4 separate regions of the Homo sapiens genome follow, and regions 2, 3 and 4 are each linked to region 1. The links are contacts of gene promoters, found by promoter capture Hi-C in blood cells and fetal thymus (Javierre and others, 2016). All regions are on one chromosome and are shown on one strand. The core of a region is centred on a gene start or on the middle of the fragment in contact, and the rest is flanking DNA. Distances in the headings are between cores, read along the strand shown. Region 1 holds the start of FAM200C (family with sequence similarity 200 member C). Region 2 overlaps EBF1 (EBF transcription factor 1). Region 3 overlaps RNF145 (ring finger protein 145). Region 4 overlaps RNF145 (ring finger protein 145).

Evidence for each region. Contacts are between HindIII fragments. The CHiCAGO score rates a contact against its expected background, and 5 or more counts as called.
Region 2: a contact is called between a fragment that was not itself captured here and the fragment with the promoter of FAM200C in region 1, in 2 of 17 cell types (total CD8 T cells and total CD4 T cells). The highest score is 5.9, in total CD8 T cells.
Region 3: a contact is called between a fragment that was not itself captured here and the fragment with the promoter of FAM200C in region 1, in 2 of 17 cell types (total CD4 T cells and fetal thymus). The highest score is 7.5, in total CD4 T cells.
Region 4: a fragment that was not itself captured here is called in contact with the fragment with the promoter of FAM200C in region 1 in 1 of 17 cell types (total CD4 T cells); the score reaches 6.1 in total CD4 T cells.

What each region holds. Positions count from the first base shown.
Region 1 is chr5:160,396,172-160,403,160 of GRCh38, forward strand. FAM200C (family with sequence similarity 200 member C) reads right to left here and starts at 3,883. Exons shown (of 2, transcript NM_022090.5): 1 at 3,468-3,883. SLU7 (spliceosome associated SLU7) reads right to left here. Exons shown (of 16, transcript NM_006425.5): 16 at 5,470-6,989. RefSeq lists enhancers at 2,025-2,524, 2,844-3,529, 3,423-3,572. The HindIII fragment of the contact is 7,568 bases long and covers 1-6,480 here.
Region 2 is chr5:159,089,613-159,096,601 of GRCh38, forward strand. It overlaps EBF1 (EBF transcription factor 1), which reads right to left. Exons shown (of 16, transcript NM_024007.5): 3 at 6,731-6,794; 4 at 6,008-6,063. Among named protein-coding and RNA genes, the nearest start is that of EBF1, 6.8 kb to the right of the region's middle. RefSeq lists enhancers at 1,165-2,294, 6,153-6,989. The HindIII fragment of the contact is 192 bases long and covers 3,503-3,694 here.
Region 3 is chr5:159,158,395-159,165,383 of GRCh38, forward strand. It overlaps RNF145 (ring finger protein 145), which reads right to left. Exons shown (of 11, transcript NM_001199383.2): 9 at 4,538-4,685; 10 at 2,872-3,228; 11 at 1-641. The coding sequence ends at 276. Among named protein-coding and RNA genes, the nearest start is that of RNF145, 48 kb to the right of the region's middle. RefSeq lists an enhancer at 2,738-3,937. The HindIII fragment of the contact is 4,917 bases long and covers 1-3,709 here.
Region 4 is chr5:159,172,348-159,179,336 of GRCh38, forward strand. RNF145 (ring finger protein 145) reads right to left here. Exons shown (of 11, transcript NM_001199383.2): 5 at 4,285-4,520; 6 at 1,636-1,811. Among named protein-coding and RNA genes, the nearest start is that of RNF145, 34 kb to the right of the region's middle. The HindIII fragment of the contact is 1,873 bases long and covers 3,386-5,258 here.

The DNA.
Region 1 (6,989 bases), core at 2,633-5,132:
TCCTTTACCCATCACTCCATTATCCACGTCCATGTGTACACATTATTTAGCTACCATTTATGAGTGAGAACATGGTAGTTCTTTTTAATAGTTAAAGACTAAACAGGTCTGTAATACTATTTGAACCTTGAGCAGTTTTGACTCCAACTTAGGCAGAGAATTTCAAATAGGTCTTTAAGTCTGATTAAGCCACCCCTGATGCAAAGGTAGGCTACAAATTGGCTCAGAGCTTCCTTGCTGCTAAGTGTAACACACTATCAGTCCATGATTCATAGTGTCCATATAAAAAAGCAAAATGGTCGGGCGTGGTAGCTCATGCCTGTAATCCCAGCACTTTAGGAGGCTGAGGTGGGTGGACTGCCTGAGCTCAGGAGTTCGAGACCAGCCTGGGCAATATGGTGAAACCCCATCTCTACTAAAAATACAAAAAATTAGCTGGGCATGGTGGCATACGCCTGTAGTCCCAGCTACTAAGCCAAGATCATGCCACTGCACTCCAGCCTGGGCGACAGAGCAAGTCTCTGTGGAAAAAAAAAAAAAAAAAAAAAAGCAAAACAACTTGCTCAGGGGAAACACAACTATTCTTGTTACCGAGACTTCAGAAAAATCCCTCTCATAGGAGAACACTCTTAAGTAAAATAACGAATTTCATGATGCTTTTCCACCTAAATACCTCTAAGGGAAAGCAGTCAAGAACACACACATGCACATACACAAAATAAGCAGCATTCCTAAGGTTTGGTTTAACCCAAAGACAGGATGTAGAAGGCCCTACCCATAGAGATTCTGATTCTCCAGCTATGGAGTGGGGGCCTAGAATCTGTATTGTAAGTATTTTAGATAATTCTTATAAATAGTAACTAGAACAGTGATCTGTGACAAGAGACACCATATCATCACAATCACTGGGAAACCCTTTCAAAATATACACGTCCCTGCACTACCTTAGAACTAATACATATCTTCTCCAGAAGCAGAACAAAAGAATATGAAATAATGTTGTTCAGGCAGTCCTGAAACACAACCTGGTTAAGTAGTCAGGCTTAGGGGAATAAAAACGTATCCTTCAAACCAATCCTTAGCTAACAAATATTCTAGGTTTCTAAGTGAATGGTCCCAATGCTTTAATAGATATTTAAATTTTCTACATTTTCTGAGTTGATGACAGCCTCCTATGAAAGTTGAAACCTAAAATGAAAGCCATATCTTTTCTCTTTCTCTCCCTTTAGCAACGAGTAAAGGCATAATCCACAGGTAGGCTCAAATATACCTTAGAAAACATTCTATCTCCAAGATAAGTAAGTGATCCCCAAAGTTTCCAAAGTTCTGTGCCAGAGAATGTGGCTGAAATAAAGTAACAGGTACACATTTAAATCTGAATGCCCACTTTGGACATTAAAAGAAAAATCACAAGCCAAGAATATCCACTTAAAGCATTAGCTTTCAAGTGGATCTACCAAGATGAACTAGTTGTAAAGTGTACTCCAATAAAATAAGCTGAGCTGTTACAAGGTTGTTATGAGCCTGTTAAATTGGAGGATGTCTGCCAATCAAAAAAGACAACCTGAAGTTTAAAGAGCTGATCTTAAGACTTCTTTTGTCAAGTAATGAGACTACATGACCACTTTTGCTTAGAACCACTTCTAATTAATGACGATAAAATTATGACATTACCATAAATGCTTATTTTTCTGTATTCTATTAATGTATATTTATCATGTAATATTTGGGGAGGAAGAGGGAATAAAGGAAAATGTTTTTAGTCACATTAGAAATCATTACAAGAGGGGCCCTGCACGGTGGCTCACGCCTGCTACCCCAGCACTTTGGGAAGCCAAGGCGGGCAGATCACTTGAGGTCAGGAGTTCCAGACCAGCCAGGCCAACATAGTGAAACTCTGTCTCTACTAAAAATACAAAAATTAGCTGGGTGTGGTGGCGCATGCCTGTAGTCCCATCTACTCGGGAGGCTGAGGCAGGAGAATCGCTTGAACCCAGGGGGCAGAGGTTGCTGTGAGCTGAGATCATTGCAGTGAGCTGAGATCACGCCACTGCACTCCAGCCTGGGTGACACAGCCAGACTCTGTCTCAAAAAAAGGCTGGGTACGGTGGCTCATGTCCATAATCCCAGCACTTTGGGAGGCCGAGGAAGGCGGATCACCTGAGGTCAGGAGTTTGAGACTGGCCCTGCCAACTTGGCGAAACCTCGTCTCTACTAAAAATACAAAAATTAGCTGTGCATGGTGATCCCAGCTACTGGAGAGGCTGATGCAGGAGAATCGCTTGATCTGGGAGGCAGAGGTTGCAGTGAGCCGAGATGATGCCACTGCGCTCTCCAGACTGGGTGACGGAGTGAGACTCTGTCTCAAAAACAAAACAAACTGGAAATCATTACAAGATCTGTTAAGAGTCCATTCCTATCCACCTTGACTATGTCTCTCAAGTATATTTTAATTTAAAATTTATCTGTTTTGAACAGTTTTAGGAAAATCAATTTAAAGTATTCTTCTCCATAACCCTCAAAAAGGGAGAACAGGTGGCAAGAATTTTCAAGGGCCTCAAAGATGAACTTACTGCCCAAGAGGCTTGTGTTTTAGAACCTCACAATTTGCACTTGCGCTTTTGTGGTATTTAGGAATTACAATATCCTAAAAAACGTAAACATTAAAAAGCATCATGATAAGGAGATATTGTTAAACAGGCATGATAATGGTATTGTGGTTGTGTTTTTAAAAAGTCCTCATTTGTTAGATACAGACAATTATTTACAAGTGAAATAAGATGTCTGGGATTCCTTTGAAATACGTACTTCAGCACACTCACAAACATGCACAAAGCGGGGTGGAGATAAAAGAAATGACTGGCCTTAAGTTGGTAACTCTTGAAGCTGGATGATGGGTATACATCATTACACCGTTCTATTTTAATGTATTTTGGAAACTTTCCATAATAAAAAGATAAAAAGCATTATCTTAAGATAGATATCACTCATTTTAAGCATGATTCTTTTGAGAGATTATCTTCAGATGCTTAATGAAAGATCTGATATAACAAAGTAAAATGTTTTTGCAAGTTTATGAAGGGTAGATATGAAAAAGTATTACAAATGAGAAAAATCAGTTAAAAGTGAACACTCACAAAACAAATATTTAGGGAATGCTAATATATATATATTCCAGCAGTGAAAACACCAAAGTGCAGCTGTAAACCTAAAACTCCAAACCAAATACAATTCAACTTCTTTCTAGCCACTGCGTATGCAAGATCATGATAGGCGCAGGTGTCTGGGGAGGCAGAGCATTTAACCATTACATTTTACAGTTAAAATCAATAGCCAGGAGAATGGGGGCAGGAACTTGGTGGCTGGGCAGACGCTCCAGGGGCAAACGCCTGGGATCGTGGCTTTGTCACTTACAGGATGGGACCTTTCCAAGCCTCAGTTCCTCCAGAGGGGATAACAGTACCTACCTTACAGGGTTGTTAGGAGATTTAATTATAAGAATGCATGCAAATAACAAGCAGCTCTTAACTGATAGGACCTGATGGTGTTACTGTTAAGGACGGAGATTTTTACAGCCTCCCGGGTGAGATAAGAACGCCAGCTGCTAGGAAAAAAAAAAAAAAGACTCAGCGCGGTCTCCGCCCGCCCGTCTCCAAGCCTGAGGCGCAGGCCTATGGGATGCACGGGCTTCTTTTAGGCGCCCGTTTCAGGCTCCAGTCCCACTCTCCGCTCAGCCTAGGGCCCAGCCTCTGGCCGTCGGAACCAGTAGAGACGGCGGTTCCTCGGGTCCAACCCCCGGGCAGGAATCTGCGGTGCGCCTGGAGAGAGAAGCATCCGCAACAACCTCCGCCTCAGCCAGGCCCGGGTTCCATCCGGGTTCTCCAGGGTGCTTCCCGCCCGCAAACTGGGAGAGGCGTCTCCCACACGCAGGCGCAGTAGCAAAGGGCTGTGGGATGGGCTGGCTGGCTTGAGTATTGAGCATGCGCGCTAGCCCTTCCCAATTTTTTTTTTAAGATTGTGTACGTGGAACAAGAAATCGTTTGTTTATTGTGTCTGCCAGAGAGGATGAACTGTACAATTTCAGGAATGGAAGGGGCTGTAAACTCCACATAGTTCTTTTTAACATGCAGAGCACTTAAACTTTTATATTGTGTCGGGCTTTGAGCTTGGAGATAAAACGCCTGATAATTGCCATGTTCCATGTGGAATAAATGAGAGAAAAAGAGAAGGAAGCTCATTGTAATTTCAGATTAGACATTTCAGCAGTGGAGGATGAGCTTCCATAGCTTGTGTACTGTTGCCTATGCAAGCTGATCCCACTTTCCGTAAGTGGGAGCATAGGGATGAATTTCCATGTCATCATCATATATCTGAAATATTTTTATTTTAAATTCTTTCAACAACATGATTTCAAAGAAATAAACCCATATTAGAGAGGTTTTAGAGAAAAATCCCAAGTAGAAACTAGGAAACGTTGTTGAAAGAAACCGGAATATAGCCCTTTCCTGTTTGGGGGTCTTTCCAGAATTCTTATAAACTTAATGAGTTTACTCATTTTTGTACAATCTTGTTAGAAGCATTCCATAAGACTAGTGTGTGTGAGGAGTGGTGGGGCGTCAACGAATGTGGGCCAGATACATCATTTTCAGGTGTTAAGGGTGAGCCTGGTAAATATTGACGGGCTGCTGAAGTTTTTTGTGGATGGAAGAAACTGCTAAAGACCAGCCTTGTTGGTCAAGAAATTAGGGCCTTCAATACTAGAGAAAGGGGTAGGCTTCAGAATCCCACAGCTAGCTTCATGTCCTGACTCCAACGGTTAGGATTTGTGCAGGTTACTTGGAGTTAATTCCATGTGCTTTTTGTAAAACTTACATATCATCCATTACCCCATGAAATTCTTTTGAGGAAGGAGATAACATTATGACAATTACAGTACATAATTCTCGCACTCAAAAGGCAGCTATTATTGAGATAATAAAATCAAAGCTCAATCTGAGTAATGTCCTAGGCATTATGTTTTTTTCTTTTTTTTTTTTTTTTTTTTTTGAGACAGGGTCTCATTCTGTTGCCCAGGCTGGAGAGCAGTGGCGCAATCTCAGCTCACTGTAACTTCTTGAACCGGGTTCAAGCAATTCTCATGCCTCAGCCTCCTGAGTAGCTGGGATTATAGGCGTGTGCCACCATGCCCAGCTAATTTTCGTATTTTTCATAGAGACAGGGCTCTGCTATGTTGGCCAGGCTGGCTAGGCATTACTTTTCCAAAATAAAACAGAAGACATGATTCTGGATATTACAGAATTCTTCCTAAATCTAAGTAAACCAGGCCTCATAGAAGAGGGAAAGAGGTCCAGAAAGGTTAGGTGACAAGATGCTGAAATTTTCTTAAACTCACAGAAGCTAATCCAGGTTCCCCTCCCTGTCCCATAAACAACTTTTCTGCCAAATATTAGAAATAATGCTACAAACCACTCACAGTTAAGTATTGTCATTTATGTATCTTTAACAAAAGATAAAATACAAAACGGACACAACATCAGCCTTTATGTTGAACCACCCTGTTTAGGTAGGAAAATGAACATTGTTTTTCATTCTTAAAGTAAATAGGAATTAAATCTATTTGCATTGCTGTTTAATTTCATACCAATCTAAAGCTCGACACTATGTATATCCAAAGTACTTGACAATTTGACTCAGTTACTCACACCACTGTTTCTGAGATGCTGACTTAATGCAGTATCCTACAGGTGGTTTTTGGTAGTTTAGAAAAGCCAGTGAGTGGGCTGTTAAAAGTTGATATACTGATGTCAGAGGTTTTGTTAGGCTGTTTTCACTGATTCTACTGTCAGTATTATCTTCACAGTGTTCTGAGAAGAGGCTTCAGGATCATGGCAATCTATTACTAATATCCCTAGAAGCTATCCTTATAATTCTTTCAATAAACCAACTTCAGGTTTTGTTTTTTTGCAAATTTTACAAACAAAGTAACAGCTGCTGGCTATAAATATTAGGATATTCTACAATTTAAAAAATCTAATATTCATGATTGTTACATAGGGGCAATCACAATGAAAACAAACGGTAATGTAAACCATATCCTCTATGATAAAGGAAAGGATTTCTACACCTAGACTTATGTCCAGAATGGTAAAAGACCTACTACTGATCAGTCAATATTGACCCAATGATGAGAAAATAGTTGTTTTCCATTCAAAGACTAACACATTTAGTCTACTCCAGAGGCCAAGGAAGAGAGAATCGCTTGAGCCCAAGACTGCAGGGCATTATGACTTTGTCTGTGAAAAGCCACTGCTCTCTAGCCTGGGCAACATAGCAAGATCCTGTCTCTAAAAAAAATAAAAATAAATGTAGTCACAGAGTTGCTAGTAATTATTTAAAAAAACAAAGCCCTGTTTTTTTCTCAAAACCAAGGTGTGCTAATACTAAATATAGGGCCACAAAAATCGAAGCAATAAAGTTTGAAGCTTAATAAATACAGAGAAAGAGACATTCTTAATAGGTAGAGAGCCAAGGCTTTTTTACATGACTCACATAAAACTGGAAATAGGCCAGGCGCGGTGGCTCACGCCTGTAATCTCAGCACTTTGGGAGGCTGAGGCGGGTGGATCACAAGGTCAGGAGATCGAGACCATCCTGGCTAACACGATGAAACCGTCTCTACTAAAAATACAAAAAATTAGCTGAGCATGGTGGCGGGCGCCTGTAGTCCCAACTACTAGGGAGGCTGAGGCAGGAGAATGGCGTGAACCTGGGAGGTGGAGCTTGCAGTGAGCCGAGATCGCGCCACCGCACTTCAGCCTGGGCGACAGAGCAAGACTCCGTCTCAAAAAAAAAAATAAATAAATAAAAAAAACTGGAAATAAAATCTTAATCCAATTTTAAATTCTATTCCCAAAAGCACACTTCATGTGCCTCTTCTTCTTTTCTTGTTTCCTCAGTATGGAAAGGAGTGAACTTACTGTGAGGCATCT
Region 2 (6,989 bases), core at 2,349-4,848, 1.3 Mb before region 1:
TCTTTGTGTTCCACGACAAAATAAAGGCGGTGAAGAGAATACTTTTGACTTTGGTTCAGCAAAATCCAAAGGATTTTTAGAAACAAAATATTTTCATTAGGAACCTTTCTTGATTTATAAGCAAACAAAAGGAAACTTATCATCATTAGTTGAAGAAGAGGAAGAGGAAAAAGAAAAAAGAAAAGAAGAAAGAAAGAAAGAAGGAAAGAAAGAAAGAAGAAAAGAAAAGAAAAAGGAAGAAAGGAAAGGAAGGAAAAGAAATTAAGAAAAAGAGAGGAAGGTAGGAAGAAAGGATTGGAGGGAGGGAAAAGAAAGGTTATCAGTAACTAACAAAGACTTCTAATTTTCTATTTAAATCAAAACTGTACCTTGAAAATATGTTACTCCTTTTTCCCCTTACAAAATAAAAAGCCAAACCTACTTTGTCACCTAAGAGAATAAGTTCATGAATGCACAAAGTACCTGCTGTAACCAAAAGTGAAATGTCTTCTGAATGCAAACTGTCAACAAGCCTTTGGCAGCAAATTACCAAGAATTGAGCTAATCAAAAAATGATATGCACACCTACAATATCAACACACTATAATAATAATCATTACATTCAACCACCAATTTCTACTGTTTGTCATTAAAAAAAAAAGAAAGAAAAAAAAAAAGGTGCTAGCTAATCTGGTCTTAGAAATTTCCAGTAGGTGAAGGCACACTAGTTAAAAATTAAACCATGCCAAAGGAAACACTACAAATCTGACATTTCATAAACAACGTGTCAAACAGCAATCCAACATTAGTAGTGGAATAAAATAAAAAAATAATTTTGCTTCAATTAGCAGCTTGGCTACTGGTGAACAAATTACAAAGATGTAATTTCAGCTCAGCAGCTAAGCAGGCCCGTTTTCAGAAGTGAATTAGGAAAGTTGCGAAGGAATGATATCAGATTCAGTGTGCTGTTCAGTTACATCACAGCCCTGAATAAAAAGAGAATGTGTACCAAAAGCAGTTAGCTTTAGAATGCATCTTTTATGTCTCAAAGAGCTAAAACCCCTTATATTATTCAAACACCATAAAAAACTAAATCACTCTAACAATCCCATATTGTATTTCTTTTTCTAGCACAAATAAAAGATATTTCACTCCTATGGTAACTACATTTACACCTACATTAGTAAATACAATTGGCTTTGTCAACCCAATGGGGTAATAATAATAATAATAATAATAATAAAAGCATCTAATTTATTAAGCACTTAATTTGTACCAGTCGCTGTTCTAAGTTCTTAACATGTATGAAGTTATTTAATTCTCACAACGGAGCTTCAAGGTAGGTGCTAACATTATTTCCATTAGTCTGATTCCAAACATTGATGTATTTTAATTGCTCACTAAAACCAGATCATTCTTGCTCAACAACTATGTAGACAATTCACCAATGTCCAAACACTCCTTCATCGCTCTCAGCAATATAAGACAGAGAGAACAGACTATCTGTACAGTCATATGAGTTCAATAAATGCATCTCTACTAATATGTTCGTTTTTAATGCTGTTCAAACATTCACATGGAAACAGCTCTAGCGTAAATATCCCCGAACAAATGGCTGTATATTATCCAGGAGGGAGCAGTTGGCCCGCCAGACTGGGGAAGTACTAGGCCATCTGGCTCCGGCAATCTCTCCAAAACCATCAGCTTTGTTTTCACCCCCAGACTCCAAACAACACATTTTCCACTGTGATGAGTTTACATTTTCCCAAACACAGGTCCTGATCATGCATAAAAATTCCAAACTTCTTCATTCCTCTATGTGCAAGGAAATTTAAATCACCTGCATTTTTGACATGTTACCAAAGGAGAGAGAAAGCTGCTGAAATATGGCCTCTGACTATAAACTTGCTGTGTCCTTTTTTGTTTGTTTATTTCCCCAAATATATGAAAGAAACTCTCTGCTGGCCTAGTGAATTCCTTGGGAACTTATTGATATACTGAAAATGTGTTTATCTACCAATGAAGAACCATGAACTGAAAGGGTTGTTAATCAAATCTATGTAGCCATGGCAGGATATAATGAAACAATCAATAGGAAAAAAATACACTTGCATCAATACCTTAAAGTACGGGGAAGATCAAAACAAATATATCAAGAAGTCTAGCTGGGAAGAGAAACCTGATAGCATTTCTGATGATTGTACCTTGGACCCCCCACTGTCCTGGGAACCTTTTCACGGTCTCCTCACTACATCATCTACTTTCAAATCCATACATACAAGGATTATGTGACTACGATTTCCTGCTTCTCAAGCAGGCTTTTGTTTAGGGGAAGAGTGTTTTGTTTTGATAACTTAATACAATTTGGTATCTTTTCTTTGAATTATAAAATATCACTCTTTTAAAGCAAGATGGTAAGAGGGGAGATAAGCTAAACTTAAAAAAAACTATTTAAAGATATATAACTCACTATAGCAATCACAGAATGTAATCATATTTCAAATACTACATGAAAATCTGAAAGGATGCCCACTAAACCTCAGACCTCCCCCACTGGATTCATTTGAGCTTCTGCAGTAGATATTGTTTCTGGATGCAGCAGCCATAAACTTCTGGGTCCTACAGGGCATTCTGCATGCTCACTAATGGAATACCAAAAACAGTAATGACACGAAAACAAACTATTTTTAGTCCAGCTAAACTTGGTTTTGAACAACCCTTCCCAAAAGCAAGCCTCTTATTTTCTAGTTGGTGGGTGAATTTTTAAAATATTATATCCTGTGTGCTTTACAATGAAGGCATAGGGATAAGGGATCTCAGATTCTTATATATTCATTTCTAATGAAGCTTCATCTTTCCTGGTAGAGTCCAAAAATTAAGAGTCATTACCCAAAATAGTCTAATGAGACACTTTGAAAAGGTGTGAAATACTGTGTCATACCAACACATCTTGGTTGATTGAGTACATTTCTTTTCTATCTCAATGCTGCTAATCCCACCCAAGATCAAGAACAGTTTATGGAAATGTAGAATGCAAAAATAGTTTTAAATTTTGCTTGTCCAAAATTCCTTTTGAGTTTTAACCCCACTTTCTAGTCAAGAATATGACATCACTCACATAAAGCTGCATCTCTGATAGGAAAAATGTTATAATAAACAGGCAGCTAAGAAAAGACACTTGAACAGTGGCTAGGTATTCCTTCCACAATTGATGATGTTATCAGAACTTATCAGACCAGAAGTGTTTCATTCTGTACTCTAAATAATTATCAAAATCCATAATGTATGAGGAAGAATTTCACAGGAAAAAAAAATGTAATCATTTAATCCATCAGTTTATATCAAGACTTACATCTGATTTAAGGAGCCACTGTATATTAAACTAAAATCAAAGATTCAAGAAATTTTAAATCAGACTTGGTATTTAATTATGATAGAATAATTTCAAGCTAGAGGAAAATTAACTGTTTTACTCATTAAGGCTAAATATCAATTATTTTTATGTCACACCTAGGGAAAGTTAAGCTTCTTCACGCTCATCTATCTGCTTTTTGGAGGCCATTGTATTAACCCTGTAGACAAGAAGCTAACCTACTTCCAAAACTCTTGCAGCACATAATCAAAGAACAAGCAATTGGATAATGAGTAGGAACTGCCTTTCAAAGTGAAAGCTACAGAGAGGTGGTTAAACAATTATTATGAAAGCACACAGGTAAGCTTTGAAATATTCCTTTTCCTGATATTTTTTAGACTTAGATAATTATTCAACCTTTTCTCAGGCCACTCCCCACCAAAATATATCATTGCATGCATTTATAATTTTGACTTTTACTGAGATGTCATATTATGGCAAATGACTTTCTCATAAGTGCTATTATCGAAAATAAAACTAATCTTGTTCTTATTCCTCTCTCTCTCTTTCTCTCTCTCTTCCTCCCTCTTTCCTGATAGAATTTATGACACCAAGTGGTCAAAGAATGCCTTAAGCTGCAGTTTTTCTTAAGCTCTATGACCTTGTTAGTAAAATGATATTTGATGTATTGCTTTAAAAATATCAAAAGATGATTCTCCCCCATTTTTATATGAGTATAAGGTAAGTTCATCCCATAATGGGAAAATCAATTAGTAGTGGCACTTTTTGACTAGAGAGACTTAAAATAAAATTTTGAGGAGGTTTAATTCATAGAGCGATTAATCACTTCAAACATGTCTTAATTCTGTGCTTCTTACAATTGTTCATTTCATAGTGCTACCTATAATTTAATATTTCATTGGTCAATGTTGCACAAGCAGACAGGCCTTATGTACTGATTTGTGTATGTGTGCCTTTTATCTTTTAGAAAGTAAATCCTAATAAATACACATAGAGTATGTCTTAGAGTTCCTACTTTCCCCCTCTCCCTCCCAACTTTTTTTTTTTTTTTTTTCCTGTAATGAGAATGGCAGGAAAGGATATCCAGGGTATCAAAGGCAATTTTTGAAAACAAAACTCCACTTAAGACATTTTTATTTTGACATCGCAAAAGAAAAAAAGTTATTAAAAATCAGGCTTTTGTGTTTCTGCCTTGGAAGGCAAAAAAAAAAAAAAAAAAAAAAAAAAAAACACAGTGTCCAAATGAAAGTGAATTATCCTATGCAATTATTAAATCCATTAAAGAAAATAAAACCAAGACCAAAAATTATAAATGGTGATTTACTCTGAGCAATCAACTGAGAAATAAACAGATTTTTAAGAAAGCCAAATATTTTAGGCAAATAACATGAAATATATTTCAATCTTTATTTTTATTTTAAAAAATAGATTTCATACTCTTGCTTTCTACTTGTGTCATATCGAAATATGAAAGTGATCATCAAAAATAGCTGTTAATAAATTGGTTCTTGAAGATTAGATTTTTAAAATGCCCAACAGCTTATTAATGTGACATTTCTACCACATATTTAAGCCGTGGTGTATCTAAAAATAATTTTTAAATATGCATATATACCCTAATTTGAAACTTTCTCAGCCAATATCTATGAAAGAAAATCATTTCTCTTATTTTAAAGGAAACATTCTAAAATCACAATCAAGTAAATAAATTTTAATCCTCTTGCTAAATTGCTGGTTAGTACACAATGGATAACTTTTTTCTTTGTTCTAATTTCTTTCCCCCACCCAATAAAGCTGTCTTCTTTTTTCTGCTACTAACTCCTCCAACTACCTAACCAGCTACTTAATTCTGAAACTAAACTTTTTCTTAAAATTAAGAAGAAGGGGAAAAAGCTCCTGTGCCTCATTAAAACGTCAGGCCTCTTTTCTGACTCGGCTCATAATTGTATCTTTTAAACCATAACTCAACCTTAATGTATACTGCTTGACACCCGCGTGTTGGGAGCTTAAGAAAATGCCGTCTATGTACCTTTAAGACCACAAGCTCACTCATGCTGCCTGGCTTCCTGCCAAACTTGGAGGCAAAAGCAGGAGGGTTTTTGCAAAATATCCTCTAACAATTGTCGCTCCCTCTTTCAACACTACCTTCACCATCATTCCCTTTGAAAACAAATCTGCAGAATGGTCATCTGCGCTCTCAGCCCATCTCATCATTCCTGGGGAAGCCGCCTCTGCCACCCCTCCTCCGCCCCCTCAGCCCCTCGCCCCTCTGCTTCCCGGGGAGGCCTGGCTTGCTTGGGTTTCAAAGGTTCAGCCCACTCCGCACCAGGGTCCCTGGGCACCTTTGAGCCCTTCGGGGCTCCCTGGCCGGGTCAGAGGAAATTCAGCCCTTTTTCTCGCCACTCAGCACCCTGCAGTCTTAATTCACAAGGCCCGAGTTCCCTTGGAGGGACGCGCGCGCGTCGAGCCCTCATCCCCACGCGGCGGTGCAAGCGCATGAATGGACACTGGAAGGCCGTGCAAGTTTGGTCTGAGCCGCCCCCGCTGGCTTTTAGAGTTAGAGTCCCAGCCCACCTGCGGTGGAGCAACTAGCTTCTTGACTGCCCTGAATTTTGTGACATAGAGCCCCCCGTGGCCCAAAATCAAGAAACTTACTTGTTTTGTCATGGAGTCAATGAGGCGCACGTAGAAATCCTGCTCCGTCCTTATCCCTAGGGTTGGAAATGGGGGAAGGGAGGAGAATTAAGTGAGAGGTTACGGAGGGTGGGTGGACAATAATTAACAACAACAAAAAATAACAACAAAACCCCCACACACATATCACGAAAGGGGCTCCAAGGCTGATTGGAACTCCCACTGTCCTGGAAAATACAGCCACGATCTCCCTTCCCCAGTGTCCAGAGAGGTGCTGCTGGCCTTGCCTTAGCGCTCCTGGAAGCCAGACGCCAAGTTCTGCAGCTGGGACTGGGATGGGGGTACCCCGACTTGTCTGTTCTCACGGCAAGAGTCCCTCTGCTCTCGCACACAGCCTTCAAGGCCATGACCCTTCAGCCCCTAAGCCCAAGGGGCCATGGGCCTGCAGCCTGGGCCAAGCCAAAGGAACAGGCCTCAGGAAGGGGAGGAAGAATGAAAGTGGCTCAGGGAGGGATGAGGCACTACACCTGGCCCCAGGTAAACGCGAGACCGATAAGGCTCTTGGGCCACTAGGAGCCTCCTCAGGTGAAACCTCCTGGGGCGAAATTTAGGAGAGGCTGGTTCACCTCAAATAAAGCGGATGACTGACCTTCGCTGGAGGATTTCGTCCACCTGGAGCTCCCTGCGCCCCCTGCCCAGACCCGGAGCCCCAGGGTGAGGCCATAGACCCGACCCGGGCCTCACCATTGCTGTAGAGAAGCTGAAGCCGGTAGTGAATTCCGTTATTGGTCTTTTCGCTGTTGGCTTCCTGGGTTGCATCAGGACGCAAAGACACAAGAGATGCAGGAGAGAGGTCTGCGTGAGCGAGTGGACCAACTTTCGAGGCAACTTTCCCCAAGCCGGGACCCCCGCTGGCGAGCCAGGCAGCCACGGTAGCAGCAGAAATTGTGGCCAATTGTGATCCCTCCTCCGCCCCCTGTTCCTGACTGCTCCCTCTCTCCCA
Region 3 (6,989 bases), core at 1-2,500, 1.2 Mb before region 1:
AGTTGCTGAGGTTGAATTTTCTTCACAAACCTCTATAAAACATCAGCAGAGAACATATAAATACATTTTGATTAGCATACATTGCAAAATTTCTCCCACAATGTCAGGGGATGAAAGCAGGTGGTCCCCACTGAGAGTACTTCCTGGATTAGATCCTTGGAATGTCAGTTTCCTGCCTGATCATCTCATTTTCATTCCTCAAATCAGAACATGAATTCCATCTTGAGTTAACTTCTCCTCCAGAGTATCAAAGCATCATTCCTGCTGCTTCTCCTCTAGGCTGATTCAACAGGATGTGCTTCATCTTTCGCACTGTGAGGATATTCTTTGGGGTCAAAAGCCCCTTCCTGGTTATCTGGTCGTCTGGCAATGTACTCATTATTGTCCCTGGAACCTTCCTGTATCCTGGTCCCTGGAGTATGCTCCTGGCCTGGGGGTTCAGTACCTTCCTGAAACATGACGTTTTGCTCAGCTCCAGCATGAGGCTGTAGAACTGGCTCAGTTCCTAATCCTGGAAGCTGGGAGGAGTTTTTCAGATGGCAGTGGCACAGAGGGCAGGTCTCCTGGACATACAGCCATTTCTTAAGACAGCCTGCATGGAAAAAATGACTGCAAGGCGTGATCACAGCAGATTTCATGTCCTAAAAGAGGGGGAAAAAAGATACCTTATAAATGTCTGTTTTCTAGTATCTTTGGTGCTATCCCCAAAGTTCTGGTTCTAACATCTCTTTCCCACAATAGAAAATTTGTAACATAGATCTTAGAATAAAACTTACTTTATATATCAGTAATAATCCTGCTGCCATCACAGATCCCCCTTATACAAATAATGCAAGAACTACTGGCTAAGTACTTTCTAAAAGTGAAGGAAAAACCAAAAATGAGGAAGAAGCTACCTTTATAACTGGGTTTTGCCTGAGTATGAAATGCAAGTGTTACACAATTGTTGCAGTATGATTACTGGGTCTCCACTGGTATGACAAGAGTATAATTACAACCTCAGAAAATCTGATGAAGACAGGACTTTTTCTACAGTTTTGCTTCAACACAGCTGAACAGTTTATAATGAAATTATTGGCAAAGAGACAAAATCGGCCATATAATACCAGGGTATTGGCAAGGAAGTGGCACTCTCTCATTACGGACAATGTATATACCCAGTTTTCAAGATTTGGTCTATATAAGCCAGTGTTTCTCAACTTGCATAAGAACCACTTGTTAACACATAGTCTTGGGCCACCCAAGACCTACTGAAGTGGGATATGTAACGATGGGATTCATAAAATCTATAGTTACAAGCCACCTGTGTGACTTTTATACACTCACATTTGATAACCACTGGAATAAGGAGTGGTGTACTTTGCATTAATATTCCTTGCATAAGATATATATGAAGAGAGAAGCCTGAAGACATGAAGTTAAAGTTATAAAGACATAACGTTTCGTGAATCAACCATTAATTTTGTTTCAAGTCCCAAAACAAGCAGGTGTGGATATCCCAGAAATTCCTTGCCAAGAACTGGTAACATCTGGGAGTCAACTTTTAAGCAGAAAGCCATCCAAGGAAAAGCAGCCAGCTGGGAAGCTAAGCAGTTTTACTCTCATTTTCGATGTGATATCAACAGGTAGTTCTAGCACCTCAAAAAAAGTGATGTGACAACAGGAAATACAAACAGGACTCTTGAATCCCCGAGATGGAATATTCAGACATCAGCGGCTGAAGCTGAGGTGCTCCGACTCTGTTTTTGATGTGCTTTGTCCTGAGTACAATGAGGCTACCTAGCACAAAAGAGCTAGGGTTCATTTTAATAATAAACACAACTAAGAGAATGGCTACTTTGAAGGGAGGCAGGAACCCTACATTACTCCTCAGACCCCTCAAATGCAAAACCGCCTGGAGAACATTGTTTAGCTAGGATCAAAAAGTATGTTCTAATCAAAATAAAAAATTGATAGCTGTATTTTACTATCAGAAAAAAATTAAATATGCACAAATTTAAATATACACAAATACATACATACCCCACCTAAACTACAAAAGCAATCCTGAAGTAAGAATATCCCCTGTATATTGTTGACACTATCTATAGTTTTATTCTACCAGCCTACACTCTTTGAGTGACTTTAAAAATGGGACATAGTTTCTGCTGTTGGCCATCATCTCTGTCCATTATTTCCAACAGTGCGGCCTCTTGCACAGGTGATTGATGATTAAACTCTAGGTCTTTTTGTTGTTGTTTTATTTCCAAAGTGATTTAAGTACTACCTTTAATTTGTAATAGAAGACAATCATCAGGCTCTTTATGGTGCATGTGCTAAAGACTATAGGTAGGCCAACTTCAATTTTACATCAGTTTGGTAGCCTTTACCATATTCACCCACTCCCACCAAATGCTTGTACCCTCGGATACTTAGCAACCCACAGGTGGGCACATATTCTCTCTACCTATGTTAGGTACATGAATATTTCTTCCCCACTCTGGAAATACTAGAGGGAAAAGAGTCAGAATTTTGGCACACCACTTTTCAGGAGTTGCTGACCCCTCATGGATAGTATATTCAATAGTCCGTGTGAGTGTGTATTCAGGAGTAAATATAAAATGCACCTGACCTGTTTTTCCTTTATTTATGGGTGAGCAATAATGTTGAAAACAACAATACATTAGAACCCAAGGGACTAAATTTAAAACTTAATTTAGAAATAAAATGGAAATATTTTATCAGGTCTTTAATATAATTTCTGAGGTCCATTTTTTTTAATCCAGAAGATAATTTTGCCTAGAAATTTAAGTTGAATTTGGTTAATATGGTTACAGTCCCAAGGGATACACTGTATGACTTACCCAAACACATTCTTATTGAAGGAGTTACCTGATAACAGATGGCACAAATATCATTGTGTTTCTCAAGCTGCTCTTTCGTAGCAATGGGTAACGATTTAATCTTATTCACAGCATCCCTGCGGAGAAGAAAGCTCTTCCACCCCAGCTGGGCCCGAAGCCACACGTTATAGTAGGAATGAATGAAGATGATCATTGAGCCCATCACTGTCCATTCTCCAAAGATGGTCTCTGAGACGCCATAGGCCACCACACAGAGGGCCACAAGAAACTCCAGCAGGCGGTAAGTGCCATTCACATAGTAGATGACATCATCCATGTTTTCCACTGGCTCTTTTCTGAATTCCTCAACCATAAATAAGACATAAATAAAAAGTGTTCCCAGAACCTGAAAAAAAAAAAAAAATGTACGTATCTTGAAATATGATCACTAAGATACTTTTTTCATAGGCTTTAAACAATAACACATTCCTGATGTTTTTAGGGTGCAATATTTCAAATATACAGAAGAGTATCCAGGGGAAAAAAAAGTTTTAATAAATAAAAAATCAACTCTAAAGAGAAGACACTGATGACTAAAATGTGGGTGATCTTAGTAATCCAGGCATAGAAAACAAAAAGCCACACCGTCAGACGTGACTTTCCTAAAATGATTCTGATGAGTAATCAATTTTTTGATTCATCTTTTTCCCTTATTCCTTAGGTCACCAAACCTCATCAACTCCATCTTAATTTTCCTCATACCATAGTCATTCCTGTTCTACAACTCGCAAAGAAGTTTTACTTCTGCAAAAAAATAATGAATAACTCTTCACTGTGTTATGTTTTCCTTTACCTAGGTAGCAAAGATCTTCCTTTAAGTTACAATAAGCTTATCATTTCTAGGGCAATATTTTGTGTGTGCATGTCTGTGAAACATGTATCATGTCTGTATGTGTGCAATACACACACATCATATACATATATATTTATATACATCGTGGAACTATTGGTATTTTTGAGTGGAATTTAAAAAACACACTCCAAATAAGCTCTAACACAAGCTCTAAAAACTTTTAATATTTTAGTTACTTGTCAATTTAAGATTTATATGACACCTCTGTATCATACCATTTTGAAAAAGAGAAACTGAAAGGCTTAATTACCTTCATAAAAAATACAGTGACATCAATAGGTTTATGTAATATTTTCTTTTTTTTTTTTTTTTTTTTGAGACGGAGTCTCGCTCTGTCGCCCAGGCCGGACTGCGGACTGCAGTGGCGCAATCTCGGCTCACTGCAAGCTCCGCTTCCCGGGTTTACGCCATTCTCCTGCCTCAGCCTCCCGAGTAGCTGGGACTACAGGCGCCCGCCACCGCGCCCGGCTAATTTTTTGTATTTTTAGTAGAGACGGGGTTTCACCTTGTTAGCCAGGATGGTCTCGATCTCCTGACCTCATGATCCACCCGCCTCGGCCTCCCAAAGTGCTGGGATTACAGGCGTGAGCCACCGCGCCCGGCCGGTTTATGTAATATTTTCATAACCTGCCATCTAACTCCTGTGCTCAAATAAATGTAATGTGTTCTAGTAAAGAGAGAGAGAAGTTATCACCTGAATAGTCCACTTATAATCATTCATCTTGAAAAAATTTAATTCCTCCTCTGGGAGGAAAAATAACAAAATTGGTTATTATATAGAGTTAATTAATCATAGGCTTACCTGAAGAGAGGTAAGAATGCTGCTGGAAATAATGATAAGAAGCCAAAAATCCATGTGGAAAAACTGGCAAATCATATAAGCCATATAAGCAGGGAATACCAATAAAAATAAACAAAGGCTTACAGCACGGAAGTGTTTCCACAAGCTCCTGGAGAAAGACAAAATTATTCTTTTTAAGTGCCTGCCACCTAGTAGCACAACCACTCACATCAGCAGCTAACATCTCTGGTGCCATGATCAAATTTCACAAATTCCCACTGAACACCCTTCTCCATGCCAGTCACTGTACTAGAGTTCAGACCAAGTCACACAGGCTTGGCATGTCAAAGCCACCACACTCAGTCAATTGCAAAGTACAGCTGATTTTCTTTTGTTCCTCAATAGTTTGCTTTCAATTGCTACTCCTAGCAATTTCAAATTATTTCAGGCTTTTGTAGCCTTAAACCTTAACAATTTCAATAATTTTTCCTGGTTAAGACAGGGAGGGAGTATTAGAATAATTTGTGGTCTTTTTCAAATCTTATGACACCCTCTTCCCACTGTTTCCACTTGTGATGAGAATCTCTGCTACAGAGAGTGCAGTGTGACTAATAGGAATGACTCTCCAATGAGCAGGTATACTCATCCTCACATCTGTTGTGGTCAGGGTAAGTGGGAGACATGACTGAGAGCAACTGTATTGTAAGATCTACTACCTGGTTTTCCTCCCTCCTCCAGCCCTGATCTATCCAGGACACTGCCAGCCAGACTAATCCTCCTAAAGCTCTACTATCGTAATATTTTCAACACTGTCTCTAAATTTTTGAGCCTGGCATTTGAGGTCCTCCACTCCTAATTTTTCCATCCAAGCTTGTCAAATCTGTTCCTCATAAACCAAGCTGCTTATTAACTAACTGCCCTCTCAGCAAAACACAAGCACTCTTACGTCCCACTAGAAATTCCTCCATCATGCTCTCCATTTCTCTAAACCCTTTAGGCTAGTTCAAGCTAAACAACTTTGGCTTTCAATTGAAATAAAGCTCATGGCTACAAAAAAATTTAAGCTGTTTTAATTAAACATCAACATCTGTGATATGTTCTCAAATCCAAGTAAAGCATCTCAAAGAGACACAAATAACATAAATCATCTCTCCTACCTTTAATTATAATATAGTCAGGAAGTAAAAGTTACCACACACAAGGTCAAATGCTATACAGTGTGGTCCTATTATAATCAGTAATTCAGAGAAGAAAGTTAATTATTATGGTAAAAATTAAAGCTGCATACTTTGGAAAGTGTTTTACATTTTTTCTTGCCAAAAACTAATAATAATAATAATAATAATCAGAAATTAAGGAACAAATGTAAACTTGTCAGTAGCTTTGCTTTGAGATTCAGCAATTTTAACTTTTTAAAGAAAGGCAGTAGCTGTACTGTGTTAGATGATGAATTATAGATCTAATAGGGCAATCTGCCTTAAAACCTTAAATATATTTTTTAAAAATCAAGCCAGCTATGATTTATATGAAATATGTACGTATTTATAAACACACATGCATAGATTTAAGCACACACACAGAAATGTATATACAACAATGTTATGTCAAGAGTTTTACATTTATGCCTAATTTTAATACAGGTGGATATATACACACAAACATATACATAGACACACATATATGTCCTTATCTAAATAGTTAAAATTAAATAAAAGCAAATTTCAAATAAAATATAAAAATAAGGGAAAATTACATTGAAACCTCGTGCAATAGGTTAAGTACTATAAAAATGACAACCCATTTCCTAAAATGTTTGCCTTTTGAAAATTTGCTACATAATTTGAATAAGTAGACCATAGTTCTAATATTCCTTGTTAAAAACTGCAATAAAATTTACAGATAAAATAACCAATTATTTCTATGGCTAAAACTAACTCACACATCCTCCTAAGCTAAACGTGGAAATTACCTACAGTTCAAGCAACTCCAAAGACGTATTTATGAAGATTTTCCCTTTAACAATTATTTCATTAATAGAAAAGTTGTTTCATGAACTATTAGTATCATCTCTTAATTGTCCTCTAACTTGAGAATTAGGACGCTTTTCCTTTCCTTTTTTAATTCCCAGTACACTGAATTGAATTCATCACAATCCTTGATTGACGATGTACTGTCATCATTTGTCTGTGCATGTCCCTCCTTTTATTTAGTCAGTAATCTAATTAACTATTGTCAATAATGTAACAAGCATTTATGAACCCACTTCCCACATACAGGTGAAGGCCTGGAGAATAAACCACATCTAACGACAGGGGCAGGCCTGCCTATATATACCATGTTCTCGCCCCTCTGCCCCACGAAACCACTATCTTGAATCCTGTGTGCTTCATTCTCTTCCCTGCTTCCCTTTTTATAGTTTGGTTTTATCTATATGTATTTCTAAGTATTACAAATTTTAAAATTTTGTTTTTAA
Region 4 (6,989 bases), core at 3,072-5,571, 1.2 Mb before region 1:
GCGCATGCCTGTAATCCCAACTACTTGGGAGGCTGAGGCAGGAGAATTGCTGGAACCTGGGAGGCGGAGGTTGCAGTGAGCCGAGATTGTGCCACTGTACTCCAGCTGGGCGACGGAGCCAGATTCCGTCTCAAAAAAAAAAAAGTCTGCATAAAACCTCCATAATACTTATATCAAAAACAAATAGCAGTCAAATTTACTTAATACTAGATTAATCGTTAAAATGTATTTGAATTTGACATCAACTTACTGCATGTTTATAGAAGCTACTTATAATTGTTATTCATTTTTAGAAAGTTCAAAATCTGATTCAGTACCAGTATAAGTTTATCCCACTTATTTCTTAAAACAGGTTTTTGTCCTGTATATTTTTAATATTTACATTTGTGTTAATGCTTTCCTAGTAACATGCTCCTTAAGGATAGTAAACTTGTCTTAAATTTCTCATAGCCTACACCACTTAGTACACAGTCTTCCATCATATTGGATGGCTGAGAAACAATGACTATTAACTAGAACTTAAAACTGTTATCTACCTATATTTACTTTATAGGAGGACAGATTTTCATCCCTACTTTTTAAAGTGACAATGAGCAAGGGAACCAAGATGTATATTCATGTACTAGATTCTGAGAATGTGAGATTCAAACTCAAGAGTGGAAAAAATAACAAATGTGGATCTAGCAGAAGCTCACAATAAAATGGGAAAATGACTTAAATGACATGAGATTTAAAAAGACAAAACAAAACAAAAACCCCTAAATATTAAAAACCGAGTCTTAGAATTATTTTGGGTTAGTCCAAGCTTGACTAACCTGCAGCCCAGGACAGCTTTGAATGCAGCCCAACAAAAATTTGTAAACTTTCTTACAACACTATGAGATTTTTTTTTTGCAAGTTTTTTTTTAAAGCTCATCAGCTATCGTTAGTGCTAGTGTATTTTATGTATAGCCCAAGACAATTCTTCTTCCAATGTGGCCCAGGAAAGCCGAAAGATTGAACACCCCTGGGTTAGACAGTAAAGTACTATTATCTACCCATTTCACCAATTACCGGACTCTTTCTCGATACTGAAGTCAACAGGGACAAAGGCAAAGTATAGAGAGTAAGTCACAGGCTTCGAACTCAGGTGGGTCTGAGTGCCAGTTCTGCTTCTTTTGGCAGTGTTACCTGGGGCAAGTTATTCCTGGTACAGTTTCTTCAGCTATAAAATGGTAATTATAATAAAGGCACCTATCTCTTAGGGTCGTTGTAAAGATTAATGTGAGGCAAAGTGTTTAATGGTATGGTACATTTTAAATACTCAATAAATGTTATTTTTATAATATACTTTTTTCTGATTGACCCAATAATTTTAACTTGAAATTGAAAAAATACTTTTACGATTTGCTATGTACCTTTCCACAAATCATTTGCTACACTCTGGTCCATAGTGCAGCCAAATAAACCACATTATTATGTTAGCACCTCCCTGCATTGCCAAACCTAGGTATCCAGTGAATGAAAATCCTATCTTAACAAAATACGAAGTTGTGTAACATGAACGATAAAAGTAATCTGCAAAACTTACTATTCCTAGATCAAAGTTTTCTCTTTCTAAGGTTATATATAGTATCATAGGCTCTTATTAATTACCTTGTCAGAAAAAGGAAAAGAAGCCTCTCACGTGATGCAGGCTGATCTCGAGTACTGAAATAGGAGTAAATCTGAAGAGCAAATAAGACGAGCCAGAAAACCATGAAAAGAACAGGGACTACCAGTTGATTCCACAGGGACATTCCCAAGGCGAGAAGGCCATATACCTCCACTACCTAAATAAAAACGTAAGATAGGAAAACTTCTTGCATCACCATCAATAAACACTTTAAACACTTGAGTCAAATCAGAAGTAAAATATTAAATAGCTTTTCTTTGATTGCAAGACTGTTTCAGCTAAATTCCTTTAAAGTTAGCCTATATAGTTAATAAATAGCATGTTTTTTAAAACTTACTAATTTTGCATTATTATTAACACTTGACACACACTTATCTAATAGCACAGTAAACTGCCCTAATAGTTCAGGGATAAGGTCAAAATAAGGTCATATTCAGTACAAAATAACCTTAAAAGGTAGTTTGAGGAGACTTGGTAAACACTCATGTCTAATCAAAATAATCAGGACTAGCATGAATTGATACAACACTGCTTGAGGCACTAGGAAAAAAAATGCAAAAGTAAAAACTTTCAGGGTTTATTCAGAAATGTCACAAATGAGAAACAGTTCAATGGAAGAAGAGTACTTAATCACTGGAAAAAAATTTTGCAGAGCAAAGATAGTTAGCAAGTCTTTTTCTCCCATACACATCAATTCCCCTTCCTCCTACTGTGTTTTTATCAAGCTATGTTTTTCCATTTGGTTTGCCAAGTGTAAGTAACACTAGGAAAAGGATATATCTTAAAAAAAAAAAAGGCTTAATAATCTGCAACTCACTAAATTAGTTTTCCAGTTTATAAAACACTCTTCTTATGAAACTGATTAGGAAAAATCAATCACAGAATCTGATTCAATCTAAGAGCATAGGTGTAACCAAGTTTCTAGAGTTACTATGTCAGGGACCAGACCCTGGTGACACAGCAGGAATTCTGCTGGACAGCTTACAAAACCAGTATCTAGCAGTCAGCTGGTCTTGCTGGAATCTCTCAATGTGATACCAGAATGTTTCAATAAGGTATAAACATCTTTAAGTATTAAGTTAAAATAAATTGACTTGCAGATTATTCTAAATTTAAAATTCTTTCATCAGTAAAGCAAAGGCTTTTTCTACAACCCAGTCTATTAACTTCTATTTTCCCCAGTGACAAAAGATTAAAAGAAAAAGGAAACTGCCCAACTAGCTGCAAAATTATTATCAGGTAAACTCATCATTACGAGGCAGAGAATATTTTTCTTCCTTTCCATTCAAGAAACAGACCACTAAAAAAACCTGTCTGTTTCCATTTCTTGCTTATCTGATTCTTTCCTGGTCACGCATTTTATAACCTATATTTCCAACAACTACATCTAGTTGATGTATGAATCTTATGGCAACCAACTAAACATGACATTAAAAAATGAAGGCTGAGGTTATTCAATAAATATTTAATATTCAATAAGTATTTACTGAATATTCATTATTTATTACAAACAAAGATAACCCTCATAAGACTGAATTCAAAGAAAAAATATGTATCTTAAATTTGTCATTATTACCCTGAATACAACTATAACCCTTCCTGCCCTGCTTCCCCATGAAGCCACTCTTCACTGACTGTAGAAATAATCCCTTTTCTGGAAGATCTACTCCTGGGAAAACTGCCCAAGTTAATCACTGTGTAAGACGAAGATAGAATCAGGCTAAGGCCAAAAGCTTAGAGAAAGTATTCTCAAAGATCTGCCCCTGGGGCCACAAGAGAATACTTCACTTAGCTGTTATCAGTTTGTTCTATCTGAGAGCTTCCTGTACCTTAAGGACACAGTCAAGAGGTGGAAGACAGTGACATTTTAACACTCTCTTTTTATACCAATGTCAGGTTAAAATCTATTTTATATATTACAAACTATCAATTAAACCAAACAGAAACATTTATTTCCCAAATGTGTATTGTTTGTATCTGGGAGTAATTTATCTTAGAGCAAAGGCTGAAAAAAGTAGGGAAGAAACTTTTACAAAAAGCATGTTATGTTGGCAAAGTCAATTCAAGTACTATATCTAAATGAAATCTATCATATTATAACCCAGAACTATTTAACTTTTCTGTTTAAATTAGGCACACAAAGGGAAGAAACTATAGTCACAGTAGGACTATAATCAGAAGGAAAAAGCAGGATTTGACTTATAGGTATTCAATTCTTTATTATTTTTGTCTTCATTACAATAGCTAACACATATGGAACATTGTCTGCCTGGTACTAAACTCATTTAAATCTCACAGAACTCTATGAGGAAAGCACAGCTTTCATTATTAGCTCCGTTTTACAGAAAGTAACGCAATTATCACAAGGTTACACAGCTAGTGAACAGCAGCATCAGGGTTCGATCTCAGATAAATCTGCTTTAAGAGAACCACTTCACTTTACTGCCTTCTCAATAGAACATAATCAAGAATCTTTCAGATGCTCCTAATTGGGCTGAAAATAGCAGCTGTTTTGAAACTGCAAAAATGAATGGTACCATAACTGTGAAATAAAAATGAACTATAACTTTAATGTACTTAACATTTATGTAGAATTTTATCTACCTGTTTGTGGTTGTCAGCAGTCTTACCTGAACCAATTCTCTGTATGCAGATTTAGCAAGGTTATAAGGTACCAAAAGATTAGACCCAAGAAAATAGAGAACTTCCAATCCAGTAAAAATCATAGCAAATTTATTGATGATAACAATTGTCTCCAAAGGAACAAGGCAGAGTCGTGCTAGCAGAGGAAGCATGTGAGCTGAAAACAGCCAAATCTGCTTTGTTTTCATGACACAGGAGCATAAAGTACACACCACCAACTGACCTAAAATAGGGAATAGAATACATTTAATTTTGAGTATTTGGCATCCACAAAATAAAAACAAACAAAAAACACTGTTGATAAGGATAATAACACAACTTTTGAAGAAGTCTAACTAAAATCTCGTAGATAATATTTTAAATCAAACTTAAACTTCATCTGACTATAATTACATATTCACATGTTCTGTGAATTTTGAATACTAATTCTGTAGGGCTGATCTGGAAAGAGCAGCATAAATCTCCACTGGTCGTCTGTGATGCCATGTGTAATATGAAGAAAACTTTAAACAATGTCTAATTCAGTATTGTGACAATTCAGTTGCTAATGTTTATACATAACTTCTTTTCCAAAGGTACGCAATATTTAACTGTTCTGGTCTATAGGTGAAAGCATAAAATCCAAGAGATATAATTACTTGTTCAAGATCATACTGCAACAATATTTGTTCTGATAATTTTTTAATCTTTATTTTTGGAGGGCCAAGTAAACTGCCCCAAATAACTAAATCATAAGTTAAAACTAAAAACTAAATAAATTCTTCTCACTGGGGATTACGCATGATCATTACATTAAACACAGAAATACAAAGAACAAAATGGGAAACTCTCAGTCTCTTATAATCCCACAACCCAAAGGTAGTCCTAAGAACACCCTGGGGTACACTGAATGTATGTGACATGATATTTGCATTTAGCCCTTTCCAAATATTCCATAATTATAAAATGCTTTGTATGAATAAGCTTTTACATTATGACATCCTTGTATAAACTACTTGGAACACATTTCCTAATATTCTCTTAGGCTAGGAATTACTGAATCAGAAAAAAACATTTTTAAAGACTTTGACACACTGTCAAGACTGCCCTCCAGCAACAATTTACCAGTGTATAATGTGGCTATTTTTCTATTAACTTGCCATAGTGAGTATAATTTAGAGATGGGAAGAACAGGGAATATTTCCCAAATTTTTTAAATTGGCATTTTGTTGGTTACTAACAGCACTGAACATTATCAATAAGTATATGAAAACATTTGCAATTATTTGGTGAAATGTTCACATTCTTTGCCCATTTTTCTGCTAGAATACGTATCCTACTGCCTGATCGAAATAGTAATCCTTAGTCACATGATTGCATTTTTCTAATATGTCCCTTGTCTTAATATTTTAAATAACTTTATTCTCTTATAAAAGTATGTATTGAAAATAGTCAAACCATTTTTTTTCTTAATAGTACCCACCTTTAGTGCCATGGCTTATTACATGGCTACCCCACTCAAGATTATACAAATAGCTGTATTTTCTTTTAGTAATTTTTAGCTAATTTTTAATTTTAACTTAAAAATTAATACATTTGATTTATTGTGGAATAAGAAAATAAAGATCGAAGTTTGTTTTTTGTACATGTTTAGCTGGTTATCTCAAAACTGGCTACTGGAATCATCCATTCCTTTCTCATTAATTTGAAATGCCACTGTAGTAAACTCCAAAATCTTTTACATATTTAGGTCTATATAAGAACTTGTTACTTTTTGTTTTCAGTGATCTATTCTAATGATGGTACCACCCTGCTCCATCATACTGATTGGACAAGTCCTCTCTCATTGCTCCTTTCAGAATTTCTTGGAGATTACTGAATGTTATTTTCCAGATTAATTTAGAATAATTAATCATATTCTCTCACTTCTTGTCAATGAAAACCAAAATGAAAATTTGGGACTTGTTTGTATTCTATCCATATACATGTTGAATATTCCTAATCCAAAAATCTAAAATCCAAAATGCCCTAAAATCTAACATTATGCTCCAAGAAAATGCTTATTGGAGTATTTTGGATTTCAGATTTTGGGATTAAGGATTTCCAAACAGTAATATAATGCAGATATTCCAAAATGTAAAAAAATCAGAAATCCAAAACACTTCTGGTGCCAAGCATTTTGAATAAGGAAAATTCAATTTGTGTTAGAAAAATACAAAAATGTCAACCATTTTTACATAAGACCAAACACTTACAACAATCTACTATGTCATAAACACATACGGTATTTTATCTCACAAAGCATTAATTTTGGCCTTTAAAAAACTGATACTAAAGTAATGTGAAAAATAATCATAAAGGCATAAAGAAAAGAAAAACTCCTAATTATATAGAAAACAAGAGGCCACCAAATGATCTGGCTTTCACTGTGTTTATAGCTATGAAATTTAAATGTCCTTGTTGAGCACAATGTAAACTTCCTCTAAGCTCTGAAAATTCCCTTAAGTCTATGCCAGCACATGTGGTGCTCAGTGCTGGGGTTACAGGCTCCCTTTATCTTCTTTCATAGAAGAATATGACTCATATGGCGTATTTAAGAGAAGACTACTCCTGCTGACGTAAAAGAAGGAAGGAGTCATATTGTTAGTGGAATTTCCCCTGAAGTTCCAAAAGAATAAGTTGTTTGTCTTCTGATTTGCCTATTTCAACTTTT